Regions from separate parts of the Homo sapiens genome. Here region 1 is linked to region 2. The links are contacts of gene promoters, found by promoter capture Hi-C in blood cells and fetal thymus (Javierre and others, 2016). All regions are on one chromosome and are shown on one strand. Each heading gives the region's core, a stretch centred on a gene start or on the middle of the fragment in contact. The rest is flanking DNA. Distances are from core to core; before and after follow the strand shown. Region 1 overlaps DAP3 (death associated protein 3). Region 2 holds the start of RXFP4 (relaxin family peptide/INSL5 receptor 4).

Region 1 (4,404 bases), core at 269-2,768, 220 kb after region 2:
GAGGGTCCACGCAGGCAGGAAAGGATACACAGAAGATATCGTATAGCTGGATAAGCAAAACTGGTGTTTTTCAGGTAATGCAGAAGTTCTAGGGCTGGTTTCCTTACCATCAGGCAAGCTTCACTGAATGTCTTCACCTGATAAAGTAGGAAAGAAGGAAAGAGTGGGTGGGTGTGGAAGGAGTGGGTGGGGGGTGGTATATATACTCTGCCTAAAGTGGCAACCAAGACCATCAGATTGCATGCCTCTAATTTACTCAGTTAGGAGAAGCTGGGTTGGTACTGAGTTTGAAAATCTATCCATATAACTTAGCTAAAAACTGAAATACATTATTCCGCACTAAGTAACATGATAGTCAGCTTTTGATTATTCCTATTACTGAAGCATATATTCTATCTCAGCTGAAATCTATAAATAATTGATATATCTCATAACAAAATTATGTATACCACTTAGGGCCACTGTAAATATGGAAAGCATATAGAAAAATGCTTAAAATTTCTGACACAAGTTAATAATTCAATAAACATTAACTCTTTAAATTTTTTTTCTTTTTTTTTTTTTGAGACGGAGTTTCACTCTTGTTGCCCAGGCTGGAGTGCAATGGCACGATCTCGGCTCACCACAACCTCTGCCTCCCAGTTCAAGTGATTCTCCTGCCTCAGCCTCCCGAGTAGCTGGGATTACAGGCACCCACCACCATGCCCGGCTATTTTGTATTTTTAGTACAGAAGGAGTTTCTCCATGTTGGTCAGGCTGGTCTCAAACTCCCGACCTCAGGTGACACCCCCGTCTTGGCCTCCCAAAGTGCAGGGATTACAGGCGTGAGCCACTGCACCTGGCCTAAAATTTATTTTTAGTTGATTTTTTTTTTTTTTCTTTTTTTGAGACAGAGTCTCACTCTGTCACCCAGGCTAGAGTGCAGTGGTGTGATCTCGGCTCACTGCAACCTCCGCCTCCGGGGTTCAAGCAATTCTTCTGCCTCAGTCTCCTCAGTAGCTGGGATTACAGGTGCCACCACCATGCCAGGCTGATTTTTGTAATTTTAGTAGAGACAGGCTTTCACCATGTTGGTCAGGCTGGTCTCGAACTCCTGACCTCATGATCCACCCGTCTCAGCCTCCCAAGGTGCTGGGATTATAGGCGTGAGCCACCGCACCTGGCCTAAAATTTATTTTTATTACTTTAACCATTTAGACTTTTTTCTCTAGAACTAAATACATGGCGGCTCAGGAGCAGGTGTGACCAGCTGCCTCACAACTCTAAGGCCATCCATACCTCATACCTCCAGCATACTAACCTTTCAGAGTTTAATTCCCCTTTTGCTACCAGAATACTTTGGTGGGAAATTTGGGAAGTACTAATGTGTGTGAAACTGATTTGCAAAGAAAATATTAAAATATGTCTACTAATAAGAATATCTAACAAATACTGTTTGTAAGTATAACTAAAATAGTGTTAATTTTTTTTTTTTTTTTTTGAGACAGAGTCTCGCTCTGTCGCACAGGCTGGAGTGCAGTGACACGATCTCAGCTCACTGCAACCTCCGCCTCCCGGGTTCAAGCGATTCTCCTGCTTCAGCCTCACAAGTAGCTGTGACTACAGGCGTGTGCCACCACGCCCAGCTAATTTTTGTATTTTTAGTAGAGATGGAGTTTCACCATGTTGGCCAGGCTCATCTTGAACTCCTGGCCTTAAGTAATCTGCCCACCTCAGCTTCCCAAAGTGCTGGAATTACAGGCGTGAGCCATTGTACCCAGCCAGTGTTGATATTTTTAAAAGAAATCCTAACAAAACAATTGAATTGGTGTAGGATTTGACAGGCAATTCCAAACTTAATGGAAGGCTCAATGTTCAAAAAAACATGATAAAGGTATTAAAACAAATGTTGGCTGGGCGTGGTGGCTCATCCCTGTAATCCCAGCACTTTGGGAGGCCAAGACAGGTGGATCACCTGAGGTTAGGAGTTGGAGACCAGCCTGGCCAATATGGCAAATCCCCATGTCTACTAAAAATATAAAAATTAGCCAGGCGTGGTGGCGAGCACCTGTAATCCCAGCTCTTTGGGAGGCTGAGGCAGGAGAATCACTTGAACCCAGGAGGCGTAGGTTGCAGTGAGCTGAGATCGCATCACTGCATTCCAGCCTGGGCGACAAAAGTGAAACTCCATTTCAAAAAAAAGTCACATCAGGGCTGGGAGCTGTGGCTCACACCTGTAATCCCAGCACTTTGAGATGCCAATACAGGAGGATCGCTTGAGCCCAGGAGGTCAGAGATGTAGAGTGTGCTGTGGGCTGTGGTCACGCCACTGTACTCCAGCCTGGTTGTCAGAGTGAGACCCTGTCTCTATAATTAAAATAATAGTAATAAAATAAAGTCAGCTACCCTGGGCACACTGTCCGTGAGTTAGGTCTGCTCCAAAAGGAGCAGTATTTAAAAAAAAAAAAGTCATATTAGGCAGTATGACAATGCTAATATCCACAAACAATGGTGAGGAAGTAGGCCTTCATGTAAATGAAAATTATGAAAAGAACCTGTAAGTTCTTACAGAGCATTGTTGGTTAAGCCAGTCTGAAAACAACTTCAAATAGTTAATTAAAGATAGAACCTCACAGCTCTGAAGCTGAATAAACATTGTACTGTGTATGTCTTGGAACAGTTTAAAGTGCCACTGCAGATGATTTCTTCAACAAAATTTTTTTTAATTAAAATTGTTTTTTGGAGACAGGGTCTCACTCTGTTGTCTGAGTTGGAGTGCCGTGGCACTATCGTAGCTCACTGCAGCCTGAACTCCTGGGCTCAAGCCATCCTCCTGCCTCAGCCTCCGAAGCAGCTACCACACATGACTAAATGTTTTTCTTTTTTTTTGAGTGAGCAGCAGCAAGATTTATTGAGAAGAGCAAAAGAACAAAGCTTCCACAGTGTGGAAGGGGACCCGAGAGGGTTGCCCATGTTTTTCTTTTCTAAATAAAGATACAGTCTCATTATATTGCCCAGCTGGTCTTGAACTCCTGCGCTCAAACAATCCTCCCACCTTCACCTCCCAAAGTGCTGAGACTACAGGCATAAACTACCTTGCCTGGCCTGTTATACCTTATTTTATTTTATGCTTGAGATAAGGTCTTGCTCTGTTGCCCAGGCTGGGGTACAGTGGTGCAATCATGGCTCACTGAAGCCCTCACCTCCTGAGCTCAAGCGATCCTCCAACCTCAGCCACCTGAGTAGCTGTGACTACAGGTGTGCATCATGCCCAGCTAATTTTTAATTTTTAATTTTTGTAGAGACAGGTCTCCCTATGTTGCCTAGACTGGTCTCGAACTCCTGGGCCCAAGTGATCCTTCCACCTTGGCCTCCCAAAGTGCAGCTGGGATTACAGGCGTGAGCCATAGCGCCCGGCCTGTTATGCCCTTATTATTCATCTAATTTCCCGAAATAAACCACACTAAAGAAATGAGATCCTCTGGCTCGCATGCTAAAACTCACCTGCACAGGCAAGTTTGATAACATTTTCACAAAATCCACAAGAGAATAAAAACCAATGCATCTAATCAAAATATTGCTTCTATTTAGCTCAGGAGTGTACTATGATTTTGCTTTTGTGCAGCATATTAACTATTTTCATGATATTTTGCCAAGGCAAATTTTAAGTTCATTTAAAACAGTTATTTGATGCTGAAATTACTGGAATCTTCTTGGGCTATACAAGGAGGAAAACATCAATATTGTTTAAACATGAGCTTAAAGTAATTGTACTAGTCACAAAAGGTAATCAACACATGAATTTCTGTTTTTCAGATTAAATTTCATCTTTTTAAATTTTCTTCTCATTTAGCCCCACCCCTTTGCTAGCAGCAGCTTGTATTCTGGGCTCCCTCCAATTCCATTCCCTGTCTTGAGCACCTGCATCACAAAGCGAGGAGGAAGGCCATGGGGAAATACAGTCTCCAAATCCTGGGGGGAGATGTTGTAGTGCTGACCCTCGTGCTGATCCCCATGCTTGGCCTAGGAAATAAGAGTGCAAACAGGTATAATGGTGACAAAGTGACCAAGACTTTCTTTTTTGTCTTATCTATGTGTGTGTATATATGTATGTCTATGTGTATATATATATATATATACATACATACATATATATATACACATACATACATATATATATACACATACATATATATATATTATTTTTAAAATGGAGTTTTACTTTTGTCACCCAGGCAGGAGTGCAATGGTGCGATCTTAGCTCACTGCAACCTCCGCCTCCTGGGTACAAGCAATTCTCCTACCTCAGCCTCCCAGTAGCTGGCATTACAATCTGCCACCGCACCCGGCTAATTTTTGTATTTCTAGTAGAGACGGGGTTTCACCATGTTGGCCAGGCTGGTCTTAAACTCCTGACCTCAGGTG
Region 2 (4,395 bases), core at 1,734-4,233:
GAACTGGGACAGGGGGCACCTGGAGGCACTGTGGCCTCCCCCTTCACAGGGCGCTCTGCACTTAATAAGGCGGCACTGCTCCCAGCTGCTGCCCCAGGAGCCTGAGCAGCCTGCGTCCTCATAGGTTACAAGTCATGCCAGAGAGCTTGGGGCGGGGGGCGGTGGGGGGGCAGTGGAAGTGGGAGCTCTACCTCATCTTCCCTCTGCCTCCCTCCTTTCTAGGGGCTGCCTCCTAGAAAATCCTTCTGATGGCTAACCTTTATCATTGATGCATCTCAATACAGGAACCAAAGAGGAACCCCTGTCCTGGAGAACACACCTTCAAGAGGGGCTTAGGGGCCAACCTCTGAGTTCTTTATGTGAGACTTTCATTATACCCCACTTCAGAGCATATACAACCATTCCAGCTGAGACATGGTTCCCCATCCCCATCTCCCAGCTGCACGCTTATTTCCTCCCATCTCTCTGTCTCCATTTTACACAGGGTGTAAGAATAATAGCTCGACCGGGTGCGGTGGCTCACGCCTGTAACTCCAGCACTTTGGGAGGCCGAGGTGGGCAGATCACTAGAGGTCAGGAGTTTGAGACCAGCCTGGCCAATATGGTGAAACTCTGTCTCTATTAAAAATTACAAAAAATTGGCCAGGCATGGTAGCGGGAGCCTGTAGTCCCAGCTACTCGGGAGGCTGAGGCAGGAGAATCGCTTGAACCCGGGAAGCGGAGGTTGCAGTGAGCTGAGATCACACCACTGCACTCCAGCCTGGGCGACAGAACGAGACTCTGTCTCAAACAAACAAACAAACAAACAAGAATAATAGCTAACAGTATATTTCACTGTTAAATCTTTAGTAGCCCATTTTACAGTTGAGAACAGTGAGGTACAAAGAGGTAAAGTAATTTGCTGGAGGTAAAGCTGTGAATCCAGGTGCTCTGACACTCAAATTGATACTCTGGGCTTTGCATTTGGGGCAGGGAGGACTAGCACCACTTTCTGAGGTCTCTGCTTTTCTGGCTCTACCTGCAGCCTGTTCTCCCAGCCCCCTCCCCTCTTTAATCGCTCACCTCCCTTCACCCCACCCATGTCTTTGACTTGTCATTATCTTCACTTCTTTCAAATCCTGATTTAAAGGGAGACACACAGGCACTCCCGTCAGCACCAGGGTTTTACACCCAGGGCCTGGCAGGTGCTGGAAATTCCAGCAATACCCCACACCTGGCATCCCTTCAAGGGAACTACAGCTTTTGCAGCTGAGGCCTCTGCAGGCAGCAAGTTTCAGTGGTCACCACTGAGATGGTAAGGTGAGGACAGGGGAAGCTGGCATTTTTGGCCTTGATACCGGAGAAAGACAAGGGATACCCTGTTTTGAGGTGGGGGGTGGGTACAGAGAGAGATGGGCACTGACCTCTGATTCATTAGCCTAGAACCCTTAGGGAAGTTTTCCTAGGTATTCTTGCAGAAAGCAGAAATGGAGCAACGAATCCTTTTGTTCCATACTGAACTGGAGGTGGAACTGGGATAAAAGGTCAAGACAATTTGTGGATAATCCAGAGGTTTATTCTCAGATCCTCTTCTTTCCCATCTCCAAATAAAGACTTAAGCTTTGTCACATCCAGCTCTGATCTGAGCCCCCGCCTCCCCCATTCACCACACCCAGAGTTGGGGATCAAAGATCAGACTTTTCCCTGAGGGCACTGCAGCCTGGCAGAGAGGGCAGCTTCTCCCCAGGACTCAAGGATCCTACACTTGGTGGATCTCAGAAAGAGGAGTGTGTTCAGCTTGCGCCCTTCACCCGGGTGTCCCTCTGTCCAGGTTGGTGAGCAGGGTAGAAGGGCGGCTCTCCCGGGGGTTGCTTGCGACCCACCGCCTGCCTACCTGCTTTAGGGCCACCTGTTGCACCCAGCCTCCGCCCTGGGGCCACAGCCTCAACCGCAGATCCCTGAAGGTGCCTGCCAGAGCCTGCCGGGGCTCCCGCCTCAGGAGACAGTACAGCACAGGGTTGAGGCAGCTATTGCTGTGTGCCAAGCAAGTAGTGACAGGGAAGACATACGTCTGGATAGTATAGAAAGTACTGTTCCAGGGCACCAGGTCAAACTTCACCAGGACACCCCAGAGAGTGACCACATGGTTGGGAAACCAGCAGAGGAAGAAGGAAGCCACCAGGATGCGGACAGAGCGGGCCACGACCCTGCTGTCCTGCCGCCGCCGTTGCCGCCGCTGCAGGAAGGCCAGCAGCAGCAGGTAGCTGGTGGTGATGACGCCCAAGGGCACCATGAAAGCCAGCACCACCCTCTGCAGCTGGTAGGCCCCCAGCCAGTACCTGCTGGGGAAACGCAGCAGGCAAAGGCGCACACCACACACCTCACCCTCCACCCCGAAGACAGCTGTGGGCACCGTCACCAGGGCAGCCGCCGCCCACACTGCCAGGGTGGCTATTCGGGCCCAGAAGAGTGAGAGGTGGGTGCCTGGCCCCGCAGCCATGGCCACCACCCAGTAGCGAGCAACGCTCAGCGCTGTGATGAGGAAGATGCTGGCATAGACGTTGAGGACAGTGGCCGTCAGAACCATCTTGCAGAGGGCACCTCCGAAGGGCCAGTGAAAGTCCAGTGCCGACTCGGCTGCCCAAAAGGGGAGAGTGAGTGCCAGTCCCAGGTCCGCCAGAGCCAGGTTGAAGACGAAGGTGTCTGAAGGTGGGCCAGGGGCTCTCCGGGCACAGTTACTCAGTACCCACAGCACCGCCAAATTTCCCAGCAAGCCAATGGCCCCCACAAGCCCATAGGCCAGGGCAACCATGAGCCTCAGGGCTAGGAATTTGACAGGCATCGGAGCATCATCAGCACTCAGCACACTGCCTCCGGAGGCATTGGCCCAGAAGAATGTGGGTGGAGAGGCAGAAGTATTGAGTGTGGGCATCGCAGGGCATCAGAGATTGGTGGTGCTGAGAAGAGAGGTCTGCAAGTGTCTGCCAGACTGGCAGAGGCCACTGAAGGCTCTAGGAAGGAGGCTGTAGAATTAAGTGCTTCTCTGGGGCCTCTGGTGAGCCCTGGCCCACGCCCACACCTCAGAGGGAGGGGTGTGGAAAGGACAACCCACCACCTTCCTGTTGGTCAAGATTGGTGGTAGGTGGGGCAGGGCGAGGCACAGCCTGAATGCCAGGGTATATGTGCATGCGCCCGCCTGTAAGAGGGGCTCTAAATGGCAGAGAGGGAGGGGAGAAGGGAGAGTTACCCCGCTATGGAGGGCAGCCCCAAGCCTCCACCCCAGGGAGAGAGCTGGAGGTTCCCTGTCCCAGAGATGACAGGAACCAAACTAGAGCTGCCTCTGTTCCTAACAGTGCAGAGGCCTCCCTCCTCTGCAGAAAGTGTTCCCTTGGGGCCCAAAGCAAGGGGCCTGGGAGGTGGCATAGAGGCAGGGAATCAGCATGGGTGTCCAAGAGAGGAAAGAGCGGAGGCTGCGGAGTCCCAGACCTGCTGCTCACTAGCCGTGTGACTGGGAGAGTTACTTTACTCCCCTAAGCCTGTTTTCTTGCTTAAAATTTTCAGGTAAGTCTGCTTCACAGGAGTGGCATGATGCAATGAGAGAACACATGTGAAATAGCAATTTGTATGAATATTATTTCAAAGGAGAAGTTTGGGGTGTTTGTGGCAGAAGGGTACTGAGAGGCTATTACCATGCCCAGGGAACAGTGCCAACTAAAACAGGTTGGAATTCATCTCAGCAGCAGTGACCTTGAGGCTAAGAGCAGGGAGGGAAAAGAGAGAGGAAGTCACAGCTTCCTGTTTCCTCCCCACTGGGAACACTGGGCCTATGAGGGCCTGTGTGGACCTGGGCATGCCCTCAGTTCTGTTCCTGCTCCTGATAATTAAACATTCCTGCTAACCTCTATCGCCGCCTTTCCCCCCTTTCCTGCTCTAGTCTGTGGACAGAGCTCAGCGGTCCCCCTACTCTCTCCTGCAAACCCCATGTCAGAGCTAAGGATCCTGAGATACGCCCTCACCACACCTCATCCTGTCTCCCCATGATCTCAATCATAACTGGAAAAAAAAAATGCTTCATTGGGCCCTCCCCTTTCATTGCCTACATCTCTACCTACTGCAGAAGGAGCTGAGGTGGGGACAAAGAGAAGGCAGGAGGTGGATAGGTAAAAGAGTAAGGCTTTCTCAAGGATTCCAATATATTCAGCCCCTTCTTGCCCTCTGCCAGCTAATTAAGATAACGTTCGATGTTCAGTTCCTTTGGAGTGCTGAGGGAAGAGAGGGGCCCTTTGCGACAATAAATCAGCAGTGGGCTTGTGAACACATAGGAGAAACCCAGAGGTGAGAGTGATACAGGCTGGGTGCCAACATGTTGGGGCTTTCGAACCAGGGATGAGTATAAAGGGGGTGGCAGAAGGGGAG

What was found. The method cuts DNA at HindIII sites, captures the fragments that hold promoters and counts their contacts. A CHiCAGO score of 5 or more calls a contact.
Region 1: a fragment that was not itself captured here is called in contact with the fragment with the promoter of RXFP4 in region 2 in 1 of 17 cell types (megakaryocytes); the score reaches 5.6 in megakaryocytes.

The regions. Positions count from the first base shown.
Region 1 is chr1:155,721,115-155,725,518 of GRCh38, reverse strand. DAP3 (death associated protein 3) reads right to left here. Exons shown (of 13, transcript NM_004632.4): 4 at 3,901-4,002; 5 at 29-137. Among named protein-coding and RNA genes, the nearest start is that of DAP3, 34 kb to the right of the region's middle. The HindIII fragment of the contact is 2,795 bases long and covers 121-2,915 here.
Region 2 is chr1:155,940,226-155,944,620 of GRCh38, reverse strand. It overlaps RXFP4 (relaxin family peptide/INSL5 receptor 4), which reads right to left and starts at 2,983. Exons shown (of 1, transcript NM_181885.3): 1 at 1,534-2,983. The coding sequence starts at 2,911. The coding sequence ends at 1,787. RefSeq lists an enhancer at 2,430-2,929 and a silencer at 3,249-3,543. The HindIII fragment of the contact is 9,136 bases long and covers 1,602-4,395 here.